2 separate regions of the Homo sapiens genome follow, and region 1 is linked to region 2. Evidence: promoter capture Hi-C in 16 types of primary human blood cells and fetal thymus (Javierre and others, 2016). All regions are on one chromosome and are shown on one strand. Each heading gives the region's core, a stretch centred on a gene start or on the middle of the fragment in contact. The rest is flanking DNA. Distances are from core to core; before and after follow the strand shown. Region 1 holds the start of LOC105371661 (a long non-coding RNA gene). Region 2 holds the start of RGS18 (regulator of G protein signaling 18).

Region 1 (5,915 bases), core at 2,355-4,854, 54 kb after region 2:
CACAGATAAACTGTTCCATGTGGCCTTGTTGGTCTGAGACTTGTGTATTGTGCAAAGAGGCCTGTGTAGCAGGGACAGTCATGAGGGCAAAATCCAGGGTGGAATTTTCCACTGATCAAATTAAATCAAAATTATTCACTAATAGTACATTTTTGGATGGGCATTGGTATGTATATGAGAAGGATGACAAGAGAGCAAGAGGTGAACATTAGCAATAGCTTGTTGCTGAAAAATACACCTTGTTTAACTGAAGAAATTCCTTTAAAAAAATAAAAAGATTTGCATGTAAACATTACAGAATTTTTAATGTTTTTCTAGCTCTTTCAATCTTGATCCATGACCTAAAATTCTGACATATTTCTATGACGTGAACCAGAGATTAGACTTCCATACATACTATTTTTCTAAAGCATATCTCTTCACAGTTCTTACTCCAACCCCATCTTTAGTGAAATATATTCTGACCATTATCAAGCAGTAGGTCTGCAGAACTCAGTTTCTTTTGGGAAGACATTTAGACTGAGGAGCATTCATTTCTCTGAGCAGAGTCTATACACAATCAATTTATTTATTTCCTCATAAGAAGGTAATGCTAATTAGAAATGACCTCTGGTAGAAAAAATATTTATGAGACAATATGGTAAGTCACATGTGTATGAGTGTATTTATTAAAAAGCAGAATGGTTGTTTTTAATAATGGTGCAGTTTGCTATGAGGTTTCTTCTCTGACTGCAGTCAGGGAATAGCTTCACAAGGTCATATATGAGTAAAATTTTAACAGCTATGGAAGAAAATACTAGAAGAAAAGAATCAAAGACATAGATAAATAAAACCAAAATGGTTCTAGAAAAATGATGAGTAGCTCAGGTCCCCTGGAACAAATGGAGTGTAGAGAAGAGTAGCTGGATATAGCAAGTGTGGCTTCAATTGAGAACACTTGTGGTTATTGACCTTAATTTTACGGTGGGAAAATACAAAGAAATATAAGGGAAGATACTTTTTTATAAAACCTGGATGAACTTTGAAAGAATTTTATGCATTTCAGCAACATAATTCAGAAGGTATATTTTTCACACAGTTTAACAATCTTTCCCAGTGCCCATCAGTGTGCACAGCTTAATGAATATTTATTGCATGCCAACAACATTTCCTTCAGACAGCCAAAGTGAAGGTTCCTATGTACCAATTTCCTATTCACTTTGCACCCTATATTTTACTAGATATAACCTGTGTGGAATATATTGGTCTTGTATATGGAGACATAACCTGTGTATTAGTCCATTATCACGCTGCTAATAAAAATATATATATGAGACTGGATAATTTATAAAGAAAAGAAGTTTAATTGACTCACAGTTTAGCATAGCTGGGGAGACCTCAGGAAACTTACAACTCTGGCAAAAAGGGAAGCAAATGTGTCCTTCTTCACATGGAAGCAGAAAGGAGAATTGCCAAGCAAAAGAGGAGAAAGCCCCATTGTCGAACCATTAGATCTTGTGAGAACTCATTCACTATCAGGATGACAGCATGAGGGTAACTGCCCCCATGATTAAATTACTTCCCACTGCGTCCCTCCCACGACATGTGGGGATTATGGGAACTACAATTCAAGATGAGATTTGGGTGGGGACACAGCCAAACCATATAAACCTGCTTGCTTCCCCACATGGCTCTAAAAGGCAGAACTATAAATCATGAGTGGAATTTGCAAAGAAGACGATTTTGCATAGAATTTTCTGATGCATAAAGCTGGCCACAATGCAATTATGAGCAGTAATACAATAAAGAGCCTTCACAATTAGTTTTCACCGAAAGGCTAAAAGATGTTCTCTCACTGCAATTTGAGAAAGCTGATGTAGATGGTTTCCAGGGCTTTTCCAAATATAATTTCTTTTGAGTCTTTTGACTGTTATAAACACAGAATCCTTGGAAACAGGACCTATTTCTACAGGTTTCTCTTTTGCTGTCTCCCTGTTATAGCCTGTTAAACTCAAGATCTGCTTTCTGACCCTGAGGAGAAAATTATTCCTTGAGATGGTTGTTAACTGGCAGAGATACAAAATAATCACTAAATTTCTCAGCATGTGCATTATTCTTCATGGTAACTGGAGATTAAAAAGTAAAAAGTCATATTCTAAACAAATTTATTTCTACTTTGGTGCCTTTCTTTTTCAAGAACTATCTTATTCTATATGAACTAAAGAACATCTACTTGTGTAAATTTATCCATATCAAGAAAAAAAAAACAAAGAATTGTTTTGTCAAGTTTACCTCCTCACTATTATGTTTGCAAAGGTGTGGTCTGGTTGTCTAGAAAAAGGAAGGCACTCTATGGAGCAAGAGTGTGCCAGTGGAAGCTGTAACATAGGGAAAAGCAACGACTGAACCAGGGATCAAATAGTTACCCACTGCTGCTTGAGTCCTGCCTTGCAGGTAATTCTACTAATTGCTGTTCATCCATCAGGCTTTCTCAGAAGCCCTGGTTCTAGTATAGATCTCCTGTTACCTCTTTCCCATGTTCACCCAGACACAATCTTGGAAGGGCAAGATCAGAAGGAACCATATTAGAGCTTTCTGCTTCACTGGGAGGCCTGAAGCCTCTGAGCGGCTTGAGGAAAAAATACCAAAGTACTTGTGCAAGCAATAACCATCCTTTGCAATGTCTGTGAAAGGAATTTAAGATGAGGACATGATTCTGCATTCTTTTTAAAGTATGCTCATTTCCTGAATGCCAGTTATTTAAGCTGTTGTATGTTTGATTAGTTTGAAATTGCATGCCTTTTATATGTGTTGGTCAATTTATCTTTAGGAAACTGATGTTTCCCCAAGGTCACAGCAATTATATGCTGTTTTGTTTGCAAGGATGTGTTGCTGAGAGCAAAATGTTAACATCAGTCAGAGATCACCCCATCAGGGTTTATTCCTGAAGGTCTGAATCTCCATGCTAGCTGCACTAAGGGCAATAACAATATGTTATTTTCTTATATAACAACAATAAAATGCTACTTAGTACAATATTATACAAGCCTACTTAGTTTCTAGTTTCTTCTGTAATGTCCCCCATAGCATTGTGTTTTTCCAAGCCTAAGTTCTGGTCTATTGCAAATATTAATGGAAAATAATTACACACAACTCTGCCAGATAGACCATTACTTTCAATTCCCTTTGACTCATTTAGACAAAATAGAATGGATCTTTCTTGATTATTTAATTATTGGGTATAATTACTATAATTACTTAAAATATGTAAGAGGTCTTCTTATGTTCACTGAAGAACAGATAATAAATCAAAAACTACATCTTTAACATTGAGTATTTTCCAAGATTAACATAAAGACAAGAAAAAATAAATCCTGTGATAAGCATATTAGTTGCAAAATTCCTTACAAAAATTTACTAGATATGAAGGTAAGATCTTTGCTTTATTAACTGCTTCATCAGCAGAAACTTGAAGACTGACATTTAAAAGGAATTCATTAAATATCTGTTGAATGAATGAATGAAATTGATTTAAACAAATGCTTAAGCCTGCCATTTAACACAATTCAGAGTTTTTAATATGAAACATAGAAGTGGAGCTTCTAGAAAGGAGTTTGTTTACTGTTTTTGCTTTTGATTTAATAGTAAAATGATAGACTAAGTTACGTTTTTAGCAGCACATTTTTTGAAATATCTTTGCCAGTTGTGTTATGTGTTCAATGGACTTATAAGATCCAGAAAGCTGAGCTGCTCAGGGTACTTGTATCACCTCATCAACAAGGAGACACTAAATATCTACTGTGAATTTATTTCTAAGAAAGAAAAAAAAAGAAATATAAACTCTTGTCTACCTTTAAGGAGAATGGAGTTCAATTGGAGAGAAGTGGACCATGAATGAAGAACTACCAAACATTACAAAATAGTATAATGTGAAAAGCTAAGCTATTTAATGAATTAATATCTTATATTAAAAATACAACACAAAATGTTTTCTTGTTCAAGGAGAGCAGAAAGGACTTTTGTAAACCAGAGGTAGCAATTGGCTGCCTGCAGGCAAGACAACAGACTTCTTTTGCTTTGCCTGCACAATGTTGTAACAGAATGAATTAATATTTAAATATGGAAGATTTTAGATTAATATATGTTTAGATTTCTTCTATGAAAATAATTTCTGAAAACCTGGTATCATTAGACCAGCCTTTTTTTTTTTTTTTGTAGATGAACAGTGGCCATCACCTTTATAAGTACTGATACCTTCACACCAAATGATACTACTTTATTCATTCTTGTTACTTTCATTGAGAACATATGAGTTTGCTAACTCTAGTGTTAACTCACAAAACGTTATCTCCAGACTCCATTGTTTCATTTTAACTTTTTAATACATAAGACATGCATGCCTACGATCTCTTATTTCAGGACAACCAGAGCAACAAGTTTTTTAGGAAGGTAGGTTCTTAAAAGTAGAGTGTGTATTGGACACCTGTGCATTCTAAGTAGTAGAATAGCATTGGGAGATATACCTAATGCTAGATGACACGTTAGTGGGTGCAGCGCACCAGCATGGCACATGTATACATATGTAACTAACCTGCACAATGTGCACATGTACCCTAAAACTTAGAGTATAATAAAAAAAAAAAAAAAAGAAAACAGAACTAGAACCATCATTATTCATCCAGTGCTTTGCATTCTGTGACTTTTCATGTTACTTCAGTTTTAGCAGTTTATCATTTTATTAACTTACAGAAAATTGATTCTCAAGGGGAAGAGTCATTTTTTACAGTGGACATTCTGTTTTGGTGGTGTTAAAATTCTAAGGGGTTGATAATTTAAGCTGGAAGAATATTTCTTTCATTTGGTCATATCAGCTTCTTTTCCAAAGACATACAAGCCTCACCAGCATTCTAGATAGCACCACAGATTTATTTCCTCTACCATTTTAATTTATATATTCTGTAATTTTTTTTGTCATGGAAAAATTTGTTGAAATAGAATTGGTTGTAAAAGATAAATTTGTAAAATAAATGTGGCGGGAAAGGAAAGGAAGGAGGGTTGGACTTTGGTGTGTCCTTTGCCAGCTTATGATTTTCTACTATATGCAACACCTAGATTTCCTTTTGGAGACTTAACTTGTCTTGTTTCCAGTAAAATATACACACGGAGAAAGAGAAAACTGAAATATGTTCTTTTTTTTCATGAGAGAGCGGTGTATTACAATTCAGGTTAGTGCGGCTTCATATCTCAACAATATCCCAAGGATAAAGTAGTACATGTTTTACCATCGGGAGGTGAGAAAACTTAAGTCAGTGGTATCTTACTGTTTGGGGAATTCTAACATTCAGAGGAAGCCATTCAAGTTCAGTCAATCGGTGTAAAAGTGCTTTCCCTCTATATCTCTTTACAGTTATAATATTGTTGAAAGTAACAAGTACTTCCAAACCTTCTAGTGGCTTTCAATTATCAAAGAAACACAGTTAATCAAAGCTACAATCACTGTGTTAGATGTTGAGCCATAAACTGTAGACTCTATTCTGAAGAGCTCACATCCTAGGGAATATACAAAAACTAAGCAGGGAAATTAAAAACCAGTTTTCTCTCTCTCTCTCTTTTTTTTTTTTTTTTTTTTTTTTTTTTTTTTTGAGACGGAGTCTTGATCTGTCACTAGGCTGGAGTGCAGTGGCACAATCTCAGCTCACTGCAACCTCTGCCTCCCGGGTTCAAGCCAATTCCCTGCCTCAACTTCCCGAGTAGCTGGGACTACAGGGGCACGCCACCATGCCCAGCTAATTTTTGTATTTTTAGTAGAGACGGGGTTTCACCTTGTTGGCCAGAATGGTCTTGATCTCTTGACCTCATGATCAGCCTGCCTTGGCCACCCAAAGTGCTGGGATTACAGGCATGAGCCTCTGCGCCTGGCCACAAACCAGTACTCT
Region 2 (5,910 bases), core at 2,675-5,174:
AATGAGCTGAGATTGTGCCAGTGCACTCCAGCCTAGGCTACAGAGCAAGACTCTGTCTCAAAACACAAAAACAAAACAAAACAAAACAACAAACAAACCAAAAAAACAAAAAAGAAAACAAACAAAAAACAGCAAAAAATGAATTGTCGTATACTGGAAATGAAGAAAAGTGAGTACAGTAGTTGAGGAAGGCTGTTTAAGTTACTTTTCCCAAAAACAGGAAGTGATAGTAGCTAGTCTTAGAGTGAAATATAAGGAATACAAGTTAAACTTTGTCAGCACAAACTTTCTTACCATAACTCTCCATTCTCATTGATTACATCCTTAACTAAGTTTAAGCCTTGATTTCTCTACCTATAAATATTACAGTTCAGAGGCAGCCATCTACTTTCATTGGCAGAGGGAAAGTTTTCAGGTATCATCTACAGATATAGAATTTTTATATCACTAAATTCAGAAGAACATGAAAAGGTCACCAAGACCTTATAAAGAGTTGGACAATTAAGGAAGGGAACAAAACAAAACAAAAATATGTCAGAAAAGAAAAGTTGTTGTTACATTAAATGGAGCATAGTATTTGAGGGTGAATTACAAATATTCCACTCCCAACTGTCCTGGCAACAGGAATCCTTTCTTCCAGTAGACACCTTAAAATTGTGAAAGACACGGGCAACGCTACAAGGAGTAGTTAGAGTAGTCTGGCTAACCTCATCTTGGAAGGGTCTGGGAAGAGCTGGGAAATGATTGTATTTCAAAGACTAAGGTGAGAAACTGGACAAGTTTAAAGTGCAAAAAAAAAAAGCTGTGGGCTTGAGGTGGATGTTTGGTAATGATAAAGCATTGCTTTTTTTGCAGACTCTGACAAGTTCAGGGTGGAGAATAATAAATCTGTGATTACCTAGCTGCATCACCTGCTCAGTTGAGTCTTTCTATCTGAAAGAAAGCATAAAATGAATACAGACAACAAAGTTCACTCACTTGCTACCTTATGTAAATTGACCCTAAAGAGTGGCAATCCAGGGAGCCTGCCTCCTAAGCCATGCTATATTATAACAGTGTTCCAGAGTCAAATGAGGCCTTGATGCTTGTCCTCACCCTCCATCTCACAGACAAAGCTCCACCTTAAATACATACTCGATTCTCAACATTTCTACAAAATTCTGCTTTAAAAATAGACAATTGATATGAAGTACAGAATGAAGAATTTATAAATTTTTTTTAAAACTGTGTTTATGGAGCGGGGCGCAGTGGTTCACGCCTGTAATCCCAGCACTTTGGGAGGCTGAGACGGGTGGATCACCAGGTCAGCAGATTGAGACCATCCTGGCTAACACGGTGAAACCCTGTCTCTACTAAAAATACAAAAAAATTAGCCGGGCGTGGTGGCGGGAGCCTGTAGTCCCAGCTACTCGGGAGGCTGAGGCAGGAGAATGGCCTGAACGGAGGCGGAGCTTGCAGTGAGCCGAGATGGCGCCACTGCACTCCAGCCTGGGCGACAAAGCGAGACTCCGTCTCAAAACAAAAAACAAAAACAAACAAACAAAAAAAACTGTGTTTATGTGGGTTTCCTGTATGTCCATCGAAAGAATTACTTGATATTTTTAATCCTTGAACAATGAAACTAACATGAATAGTTCGTTAATCATGAATTTGATAAAACCGAAGATTTCATTCAAAAATCGGAAAAATTTAAAAACTGAAACTAGCTACAGTATAAATAACTAATATTTCATCCACAGTAGGTAATTCTAAACAAAATGAGAACTTTTAAAAAAATTTCCATTATTTGACTTTTCTATTACTTAGTTCTGTTGATCAGAAAATTGAATTACTGAAAATTAACAATCAGACAAAAATTTTGTGACCTATTGTTTCGGATAATTACATGCATAGTTTGTGTAATTTTCCATTAAGCACACAAAGTATTTGGTGAAAGTACCACTAACCTCTATGGGAAAGCAGTTTGTCAAATGATTCACCCCATTTCACTGCCTCTTCAGGGGAGACTCTGTACAAGAAACAAAATGTTTTATAATGGAGTGTGCAGAAAGTCTGTTTATGAATCTGTTCTAACATATGCTATTTTACTGCTCTTTTCAATTATATTTCACAGTTTCTCCTTTGATTATAATATAATGAAAATTGCATTTACATTAGAAACTTTGAAAACATTGTTCAATTTTCTTTTGGAATTTGTCTGTTGAATAATGTGTTGAAATAACATTATTTTTTTTCTCATGGATATGTGAGTTTTATTTTTTAATTAAAAATTAATCCTTTTTTAGGTTAAAGGGCACAGATAACAAATATAAAGAAATCAGGTCAACTATCTGTTTAAATTCAGCAAGTAGAAAAAAACTAAACTCACAGTATCTTTCAGTTAAAAAAAAATTATACTGCAATTTCCTTGAAGCTGTAACCACACTAGGCTGCAAATTTTTTTTTTAAACGGATACAGGAAGTTTGACTAATAAAGTTTCAAAGGGATAAGAAATATAAGATATTTTAATAGAAAAAATATTCTAGAGATGTTGGTAATGTGGAGAATTGAATATATTTTCTCGGATCTTTTTTATTATACTCTAATTTGGAAGAATTTGTATGAAACTAGTATATAAGGTTTTTGCATTTTCTTTTTGAATTAAATAAATGCTAAGTATTAAAAGACATTATTTGTGCTTTACTTGCTATAATGCGTGTGTTTTTTCAAACTACTGAAGAAAGAGATGAATATCTCTCTGCTATGACAATATTGCATTGTGAAAACTCTTAAATTAATGAGCATTTTATCAGGTTATAAGGAGTAAAACATGTCATTTAAAACTGACAGGTATATAATTTTAAAAGAGCAGCTTTAAGTGTTCACGTGATTATTCAATTCAAGCGATTTAATTCAAGTGATTTAATTTTATGAAATATTTCTAGTCTCTTCAAATGAAATTTCTAACTTTCCTTATATTGCTGTGTAATTTTCAATAAATCAGAAATCCCTAACTGCATTTTTCTTAAATCTTTAATGATAGAATCAGCAAAATCTTCCTCAAAATACTGAAAATTTATTCACCTTGTTTCTTTGGCCAAGTGCCCAGATCTACTGGAGCGGGTGTCTTCATGAAACTCAGGTTTCTGCACAAGAAGACTTAGTCTATTTCTTTTTTCCTTAGCTCTGTAATAAAAAGGCCTTCATGTCAGGACAATTTAGATGACAGTTAAAATCTCTCCTGCTGACTACCAGAAAATTTTGTAGTTGGTAAAAACCCACGCCCACCCATACCCACACACTCATGAATCCCATTTAAATATTGTATTTGTGGAGGAATTAGGGTAACATACGAAAATGTTTCTCCTTTTGCTCACCGACAATCAAGTATTTGAGATTATATTTCAATAAAGATTGCACTAGTTCCTCTATGTGGCTAACATTATTACACTTTTTTTTTAATGAGAACACTTTAGATTTCAGTTTGTTGTTTAAACCTAAGAAATAAAAAGGTGTTTTTTTTTCCCAAATTATAGCAATACAAACAATATATTTTCCACCCAATAGTTCAAAAACAAGAGGTAATGAATCTTCAACCTCAATTATGCTTTTAAAAGTATAAGGCTGACTTAAAATTGTACAATTTTACCTGATTTTGGCTTCTTTGCTTGTTTCTTCTTTTCCTGAACCATGTATTAACTTGAAAAAAGTTTTTTCTTTTGATTCACACATATTTATTTGAGAAAAGAAAAGCAATGTTGTTTCCATCTTCTCTCTAAAATGAAGAGATGTCTAATTTATTACATCCTTCCCTAGTTCATTTATTAATACTATTCCATACATATACATAGTAGAATAAAAAGTTATCACAACTCTTACAGTAATGTTTACAAAAAAGAAGTCAAGAGCTGCGTTTCTTTCTGTCTCTGCAGAAATGCAGAACTGAGGAAATGAAGTACAATTTGGTCCTAAGTTGTTTAGGGAAATGATACCACAAATTTGCAAAATGACTCTTGGTCTCTAAGATAAAGACTAGTCTTACCACAGTGCAACTTCTCGTTCAAGTTTGCGCAACCAGAATGATGCTTTAATAGACTCAAATAACACTGTCATTTCCCACAGGAACTTTTCAAAAAGTTTTTAAATGTGTGGACTGTGTGTTAAAATGTGTTATGGCAAAGTATTATATCAAACATTAGGAGATATTTTCTCCAGTTCTTAAAAAAGTATTTTTCTTATTGTTATTACATGAGTTAAGTAAATCACATTTAACTGACATAAGATTATGTAATGTTAATTACATTGGCTTAACATATTGTAACAAAATAAGACAATAGATCAGAATTTTATGGTTAAAAAAAGATTGTAGAAAGCATTTAATTTAACAGTTTTGGGCTGGGCACAGTAACTCATGCCTGTAATCTGGAGGCTAAGGTGGGCAGATTACCTGAGCTCAGGAGTTCAAGACCAGCCTGGGCAACATGGTGAGACCCCATCTCTACTAAAAATACAAAAAATTACCCAGGCACGGTGGTGTGCACCTACAGTCCCAGCTACTCAGGAGGCAGAGCCAGGAGAATCCCTTGAACCTGGGAGTCGGAGGTTGCAGTGAGCTGAGATCATGCCGGCTACTTCACTTCAGCCTGGGCAACGGAGCAAGACTCTGTCTCAAATAAATAAATAAAGTTTTAAGCACATATCTATAGAATGATTTTAGACATTTTTGAAATTTTTATCAGTCTGTGATGAAATGGAAAAAAATATGAAAAGTTTTTTTTCTTAAAGCTTTATTTTAATTCCTTTGATATAAAGGACTTGCTATTTTGAATTTGCTCTCCTGACTCTTTTGTTGTTAAAATGTTCTTTATAATGTAAAAATGTTCTTTATAATGACATGGATTAAGTAGAGATGGTAGTTTTTATATTTTAATGCCTTTATTAAAAAAAATGTTGACAACTCCAATTGGTTTAGCCTCCACTTCTTTCACTGTTTTATAGAATACAAAAGTCTTACAAATGCAGTTCTAGTCCATAATTCAAATTTTATTGAAAAATAAACCAAAGTTCACAGGCATTAGGTAATTTAATCCTACAAAGTTTCAGAGACAGGCCAGTGGAAAATCTGGAATTATCAGAGCCTTTGATCACCTACTATGTGCTTTAGTCCTTCCAAGAATCTTTGATCTCCAGTAGTGAATGCTTTAATCTAAAATGGTATATATTGAAAGCTGAGTTATACAAACCTAAAAGAAAATTTTATTTTCAGTCTTTTTGAATTATTTTTTTACCAAGACAATTTATCAGGGATACCAGCTAAAAGCTCAAAACATTTATCTATATGAAATTAAAGACTTTCTAGTATATATTTATACATATACCCCCTGATTCCATGACTTGTACTTTGAACATATTTTAAATCTCTCACCTTGGCTGAGAATTGAAAAATATTATGTATGATGGCATTTTGCATTGAGCTTCTGCTGGAAATGGATACTGATAATGCAGATTATGCTTCCACCCTGCTGTCCCCTAGTAATGATTAGTATCCACTGTGTTTATATCAGTTTAATCCTATGAAGGTGAATGAGCACAAGAGAAAATCATAGGAGCATGGACATCATCCAGTCACTAGGACTATAACTTAACTGTTAACTCAGAGAAGTTAAAGACATAAAATCAATATATTATTTTTCATAAGATATGTTAAATTTATGTGTGAAGTGTGCTATACACAATGCTGATAGAACCGTGGAAAAAGAAATTGTGAAAATACGGGCACAAGTTGCCGGGCACGGTGGCTCATACCTGTAATCCCAGCACTTTGGGAGGCTGAGGCAGGTGGATCATGAGGTCAGAAGTTCAAGACCAGCCTGGCCAAGATGGTGAAACCCCATCTCTACTAAAAATACAAAAATTATCCAGGCGTGGAG

What was found. Contacts are between HindIII fragments. The CHiCAGO score rates a contact against its expected background, and 5 or more counts as called.
Region 1: a contact is called between a fragment that was not itself captured here and the fragment with the promoter of RGS18 in region 2, in 1 of 17 cell types (megakaryocytes). The highest score is 6.4, in megakaryocytes.

What each region holds. Positions count from the first base shown.
Region 1 is chr1:192,101,858-192,107,772 of GRCh38, reverse strand. It overlaps LOC105371661 (a long non-coding RNA gene), which reads right to left and starts at 1,524. Exons shown (of 3, transcript XR_001737813.2): 1 at 1,355-1,524. The HindIII fragment of the contact is 8,331 bases long and covers 1-5,915 here.
Region 2 is chr1:192,156,476-192,162,385 of GRCh38, reverse strand. It overlaps RGS18 (regulator of G protein signaling 18), which reads right to left and starts at 3,924. Exons shown (of 5, transcript NM_130782.3): 1 at 3,630-3,924; 2 at 3,065-3,166; 3 at 1,947-2,008. The coding sequence starts at 3,748. The HindIII fragment of the contact is 5,451 bases long and covers 1-4,767 here.